Linked DNA regions of Homo sapiens: region 2 is linked to region 1. Evidence: promoter capture Hi-C in 16 types of primary human blood cells and fetal thymus (Javierre and others, 2016). All regions are on one chromosome and are shown on one strand. Each heading gives the region's core, a stretch centred on a gene start or on the middle of the fragment in contact. The rest is flanking DNA. Distances are from core to core; before and after follow the strand shown. Region 1 holds the start of MAN1C1 (mannosidase alpha class 1C member 1). Region 2 holds the start of PAFAH2 (platelet activating factor acetylhydrolase 2).

Region 1 (3,242 bases), core at 530-3,029:
ATCTGTCACGGTGGGGACGATTAACTGACCCGAGTGGTGGGAAACTGTGTAGGGAGGAAAGAAGGTGGGACATTTGGGAGGAAAGGGGAAGGTGCAAAGTGCAGTCTGCAGGGCCAGAAGTAGACCTGGGACCAGGAGTGACTGAGGCAAGGGAAAGGGGTGGGAGCGCCAGAGGGTCTTCTCTCCTTAGAGGGGGCAGTTGGTGGGAGGAGTTTGGGGGCTGAGTCCATACCTCCTTGATTTTCTCCCGCTGGGCTCGCACTTGGCTCTGGGGCTCCTGACTCTCATCGGCCCTCGTTCCCAGGACCGGGTGGCGGAGACGGCTCCGGAATGCGTTGAAGTCAAAGCGGAAAGGGACGCCCTCGTCCCCGGGCCTGGAGGCCGGGATGCTATTGCCCCGGGCCGCCGTGGCCTCCTCGCGGGGTCCAGTGGGGCGGGTGCGCCGCAGCCCCCCTTTCCTGCGGCGGGGACTGGCCCAGCTGCTGGGGTCATCCTCGCCCGGGGCCGGCGCGGCGGGGGCCGGGTTGGGAGGCGGCTCCTGCTCGCGGGCCGGGGCATGGCCGGCGATTTCAGCCACCACTTCCAGACCAGGCTGCTGGGTCCGGGGGGCCAGGAAGAGGCGCTTGAGGCGAGAGGAGTGGGGCAGCAGGAAGAGGGCCCCGAAGCACAGGGTGACCAGGCCCGAGAGGAAGAGGAGGAAGAGGAACTTCTGCGGCAGCCGCAGCCCCCACGGGGAGGCCGGGACGAAGCCGGGCACTTTCCTCATGAGCATCGTGGCCCGGCCGGTGGCTCCAGAAGCCCTCGGAGTCCAGGCACGTGTCTGCGGGGGCGCGGTGAGGGGAGGGCGTCCGGAGCGCCGCCCGGGATGGGGGTCCCTGGGCAGGGTTGCCAACCCTGAGAGTTTCGCCGCTTCGGGGGACTGTCCCCGAAGTTCAGGGAGTTTGGAGCGAGTCCTCCCGCGAGGAGGCGGGGGCGCAGCGGCCTCGGCGGGGCCCGGGCGAGCGGAGCGGCACGGCTTGGGGCCCGGGCCCGCAGCGACCGGCCGCGCGCCGCAGCCTCCCCTCCGGCCGAGCCCTCCCCGCCGCGCCGGGGCCCGCGCCTTCCCGCGCTGCGGCCGCCGGGACCGTCACATGCCGTCCGCGGCGTCCCGGCTGTCCGCGCCGAGGGGCGCCCGCAGGCCCGCACCAAGCCGCCCTCCGCCCCCTAGGCTCCCGCCCGCGCTGGTAGGCGCCCAAAGTTTCAGCTTCAGAAGCAGTTTCCGGAGGGGACCGAGGCGATGGGGGGCTGGCGTGTCAGCGCCGCCCCGAGCGCGCGCACACCCGGCCCGGTCGCGACAGCGCCCGGGCTCGACTATCGGGACACGTCCACAACTTTCTCCGCCGCGGAGAGGGCGCCGGGAGCTGGGAGCCGGAGTGGCCAGGGAGCAGGAGCAGGCACTTCCGAGCCTGCGGGGGCAGGGGGCTTCCCCCGGGCCCCAGACAGCGCAGGGATGCCTGGGTCCGGAGCCGCGGCTGGGCGGCTGCAGATGCGCCCGGGAGCGCGGGCTCCCGCCCCTCGAACTCGGCAGGGCGCGGGGCTCCCACTGGGATCACCTGTTCCCGGCCCCGCCGGCTCCGCGGAGCGCGCAGCCCTGGCCGCGCCTCCCCCGCTGCAGCTGTCTTCCTCGCAGCGGCCGCTCCAGACCGGCCGCTGCCGCCGAGCCTGCGCCCCACACGCGCGCACAGCCACCCGGCCGCCTCCACCGCCGTCCCCGCCGCCGCCGCCGCTCGGGCTTTCACTGCGACAGCGCCCGCCGCCCCGCCTCCTGCCGCCCGCCGGCCACGCCCGCCGGCCACGCCCACGCGCGCGCCCCGCGCCCCCTCCCGCCGCCGCCGCGCCGCAGCCGGCTGAGGGCCGCGCGTCCGGGGGCGGGGCAGAGGCCGAGCGCGGGCGGGAGCGCAGCCCGCTCCAAGCCCCGCCCTCCCCGAAGGGCAGGCGTCGCGCGCACCCCCCATCCAGCGGGCGCCAATGGTCCAGCGGCGCGGGGCAGGCGAGGGCGGGGGCGGAGAGCGCAACGAGGGCATTGGCTGCATCCGAGGGATCCCCGTTGGGCCACAGTCGTCCATTGGTTACTGCCCAGCCTTCGCTGGACCCCAAGCGACAGAGACCACCCCCCAGCCCGCCCGCGAGGCTCGGGTTGGTGGCCCCCGGAAGCGGGCCGGAGACGGTGTTGCTCTGGAGGGGTGTGCCCGTCGCTGGGTGACCTCTCTCGCCCCCGAGTGCCAGCCCGGGGTTGTCAGGGAGCTGGCAGCCCGCGCCCTGGCGGCTGCCCCGGGCTTCTCAGCGCTAACGCCGGGCTGCAGGGGTGCTGCTGGTGGCTGGAGCCAAGCCAGAGAGCTGTGACCGCGGCCGGGTCGGCGGAGGTGATGTTTCCACTGGCCCCCTCGCAGACCACTGGCGTGCCTTCCTTTTCCCACAACCCTAAACGGGGCCAGGGCTCCTGGGTGGAGCACGGAGGGAGGCTGACCGCAGCCTTGAGAAGCAGCGAAAGGAAGAGAGCCCCGGGCGTGTCTACAGAAGACCACACACATAATGTGACGGACGTCTACCTTGATGCCTACGTGTGTTTATATGCACATGTGTGCGTCTGGGCATAGATCTATATGCACACAGAGACTGGCATGTGGGTGTGTACATGCACTCAAACATACACTTAATTTGGGTATGGACACCCAAGTGATTATACCACAGTATGCATAGACATATATGTAAATTAGTACAAACATGGACATGTGCACCCGCATACCCACAGACACTCAGGCAACAGATAACCTCCAAAAACAGCCAGGCATCAACTCCCAGACACGCGTGTCCTCAACCCCAAGGCCCTCACATCTTCCTCCTTGGACTTAGTCTCTGCATCTTCCCTTCCTGTTAAACCTAACCCAGGGTGAAGCAACATTGTGCTGTGTGGGTCTTTCATGCAAAACACTTTATAGAGACAAATAACAGCAGAGGGAGAGACAAATTAAGAGGTTTGTAATAGGCAAGAGGGAAAATATCTACTTTCAGCTGCAATTTAAAATGAAATGCAGTGTTGACGAGACAGAAAATACTGCAGGGAAGCCTTTCCCGACAGAAGAAGCGGGCCAGGCAGGCTCTCGCCTCGTAAATCTTGCTTCTTCCCTGAGGCCTGCTGGGGATGGGCGGCTGGGACTCAGTCATCCTTCTACCTCTGGCCAGACCACTGACAGCAGACCCAC
Region 2 (3,557 bases), core at 363-2,862, 380 kb before region 1:
GAGTGTTCTGGCCAGCTGCACAGCACGGATTAATGGGCCAAAGGGAGCCGCTCTCTGATCTGCGCTAAGCTTTTCAGGTTCTGTGGCCACCGCCATCAGCCACAGATTTAATGAGATCCGAGGCTTAATTACCACAGTGCAGGGCTGCCAGCACTCTCTCCTGATGACTTTATCTTGGCTCCTGGAAGGATGGGGGTGACAACAGTGTGTCGGCAGGAGAGGAGAGCCTAAAGCAGGGACTCTGGACCCTGGTGTTTCGGGGGGATGTGGGCTGCAAGAGTAGGGTGGAGGGGGCGACTGCAGGACTCAGTACCTGACCTCAAAGAGCTCACAATGTGTCAAGAGTTAAGACCTCTAATACAGGAGATACCCAAGGCAGTGTGAGTCGACTCACATGTGCGAGGCACACACAGATGTCGGCGGAAACTTTGGAGGCATGAACAAAGCTCCCAGAGGAGGGGCGCTGAAGGGTGGGGGGTGGGGCGTGGGGGAGTGCAGGTTGGAGAAGACCTTGAATGTCAGGCTAAGCAGTTGGGACTTCACTTCATAGGTAGTAGAGGGCCGTTGAACGTTTTTGAGCTGCCTGAACGATCCAAATTTCCTATAGAAGTTTACAGAACTCCTGAGGATGGGCTCTGCCTAACGCCCACTCCCCCGAGAATACTCTCCTTCCATCCCTCACACTTAGCTGCAGCCAGCACTGAACTTAATGCCATACTCTGAAACGTCCTTCACAGTCTCTGTACTCCTGGCTACGTTCTTTCCTTATATCGGGTCTCAATGTTAACAAACATCACTCCCTCTAAAAAGCCTTGCGGACACCGCCCTTTTCCCCCAAGCCTGGCCAGAGGCCCCTTTTCAAGGCTCCCACGCTTGCTGTGTCTCCCCATGAGATCACGGCTCTGTGCTGTCATTATTCATTTGTCTGAATTCTCTGCTAGACTGTGATTCTGTTGAGGCTAGGAGCGGTATCTTGTCCATCAGTGTCGCTAAGAACCAGCATTAGACAGTAATGTGGGATGGATGCGGCCCAGCAGATTACTCGGGTTCCTCCCCTTTCTCTGCCAGGGAGTCTTTTGAGGACAATGGAAAATCACAGGTGTCAACAGATGCAGGCTGGTAGGGAATGTCCCCTTAATTTGAATGATCAGTCTATTATTCTTACAGGAAGCAAAGTGTGCAGAAGACACAAAACAAACTCCAACCTCCTCCCACCTCCTTGAGAATAAAGCGAAGCGGGGACCATTTCTAGGCACGCCTGAGGACTATTTGAGGAGGGTGAGGCGGAGGGTTACGCACGGGACTAAGGCAAAACCCTCCGCTCGAGAGCAGAAATCGCGGCGGCACCTCTTCAGGCCACCAGGGGGAGGAATCACACCGCATCCCAGGCCTTGGGCGGTTTCGCACGACCACGCGGGGCTGGACGGTCGCGTAGAACTCTGGGAGGTGTAGTTTTAGAGTTGTAATGCGCAATCTCGCGCACTGTACATCGGGAATTGTAGTTCTAGATTGAGGAACGAGAAGTGCTTCCAAGCGTCCATTTTGAGCCTTGGAAACTACGACGACCAAAGGGCCACGGGTTCATGGGTCGTTTCTCATTTCCGTCGAGTTAAACGTCTGGGGCTGCTTCTGAGGAATCAGCTTGACTGGGTAAGTTTGATTGGAGAAAACACCTATATCTCAATTGAGCTTCCTGCAGACTTTTGTATTCTGGCCCGGTTTGGGGCCTCGGCGTCTCTCAGTCATAGGAATTGCACATTAATCTTCGTCCTTTACGTTTCCTATTCAGACACCTGTAGCCACCCGCTCCCTTGACCCTCCCACGGTCGCCTCGCACTTTTAACGGCCAGTGCCCCTGGAATCCCCACTGAGCTCCCGTCCCAGGACCCAGCCCCCGCAGCCCCACCTTGGACCCCACAGCCCTACCCTGATTCCTCGGCCCTACCTTCACCCTGCAGCCTCACATCCCTGAACCCCGGGCTTCTTTATGCTCCTCCACCCTTTGTGTACTTTACTCTTACTCTCAGTTTTCTGTTTTTCATGGCGGTGGAAGAAGGGTCCCCATTCCTTCTTTCCGATCCGCGATTACCCTGGACTCGAAGTCAGCAGACCCGGTTCTAGGCCAGCTCTGCCTCTCACCCTCTGTGACCTTGGGCAAATCATACAACTCTGGGACTCAGTTTCTTCCTCTCTAAAACGGAGATGACTGTTGCTCCATCAGTCTCAGGTGAGGAGTGTTGAGGAGCCAACAAGCTAGTATGTGTGAAGATGCCTTGTAAACTGTAAGACCTTCACAAGAGACAGAGATTATTTTTATCACAATTATTAATGCTCTGGAACACTCTTATCAGGCCTCTTCTCTAGCTCTGCCACCTTGTTGCTCAATCTCATCCCTCGAGTGCTTGGTGTCTTCATTGTCTACGAGCTGGATGATATTTCCTCACTTCCTCCAGAGACCAAAGGTCAGGCCAATGAGCTTTTAGTCTTCAGAGAGCTTTGTCTGAAAGGAAGCACAAGAGAAGTGCTTATCTTGGACTGTATCTTGAAATAGCCAGTGATGAAAGTGTCACACAGCTGGCAGAGCAGCAGTCCTCTGCTCACCAGAAACAGGGTCCCAGCAGGAGAGGACAGCTGCAACCTAAGCCCCATCCATTCCCTCTGGGCTCCTCTGGGCCTGTTCAGTAGACACTGGCTTTGGTAGGGGTGTCTGAGGCCTGAAAAGGCTGCTGGGAAAGAATCTGTTTTGCCAAAGGGCTTAATCCAGGAAAAATGAGAGACCTTGGCTAGGAAAGAGAGACATAGCATTGTTAATTAGTTCCTAACATTTTATAAGCACTGAAAATGCACCAGGCCCTAGGCAATATTTTCACTTACGAAGTATCCATTTTACGTATAAGGAACTTGAGAGGCATGTAGTTAAAATAATTATAGTTGCCTCCTATGGTTATAGTACCTTCTATCCATCGAGTGCTTTACATGCATTATTTAATCCTCATCAACAATCTCGTGAGTAGTTACTATTTCTTTTTTTTTGAGATGGAGTCTCGCTCTGTCGCCCAGGCTAGAGTGCAGTAGCGCGATCTCGGCTCACTGCAAGCTCCGCCTCCCGGGTTCACGCCATTCTCCTGCTTCAGCCTCCCAAGTAGCTGGGACTACAGGCGCCCGCCACCAGGCCCAGCTAATATTTTGTATTTTTTTTAGTACAGACAGGGTTTCACCGTGTTAGCCAGGATGGTCTCGATCTCCTGACCTCCTGATCCGCCCGCCTCGGCCTCCCACCGCGCCCGGCCCATAGTTACTATTTCTTTTTGAGACAAGACCTCGCTCTGTCACCCAGGCCGAAGTGCAGTGGCACAATCTTGGTTCACTGTGGCCTCCGGCTCCCAAGCCCCAGCAATCCTCCTACCTCAGCCTCCTGAGTAACTGGGACTGCAGTTGCATACCACCACATCCAGCTAATTTTTTTTTTTTTTAATTTTTTTATAGAGACAGGATTTTGCCATGTTGCCCAGGCTGGTCTTGAACTCCTGGGCTGAAGCAATCCTTCCCATTTGATC

The links. Contacts are between HindIII fragments. The CHiCAGO score rates a contact against its expected background, and 5 or more counts as called.
Region 2: a contact is called between the fragment with the promoter of PAFAH2 here and the fragment with the promoter of MAN1C1 in region 1, in 6 of 17 cell types (megakaryocytes, naive B cells, endothelial precursors and 3 more). The highest score is 6.8, in megakaryocytes.

What each region holds. Positions count from the first base shown.
Region 1 is chr1:25,615,328-25,618,569 of GRCh38, reverse strand. MAN1C1 (mannosidase alpha class 1C member 1) reads right to left here and starts at 1,779. Exons shown (of 12, transcript NM_020379.4): 1 at 233-1,779. The coding sequence starts at 772. RefSeq lists silencers at 1,554-1,843, 1,864-2,153 and an enhancer at 2,344-2,513. The HindIII fragment of the contact is 10,837 bases long and covers 1-3,242 here.
Region 2 is chr1:25,996,118-25,999,674 of GRCh38, reverse strand. It overlaps PAFAH2 (platelet activating factor acetylhydrolase 2), which reads left to right and starts at 1,612. Exons shown (of 11, transcript NM_000437.4): 1 at 1,612-1,650. RefSeq lists enhancers at 1,467-1,516, 1,527-1,616, 1,787-1,866. The HindIII fragment of the contact is 3,571 bases long and covers 72-3,557 here.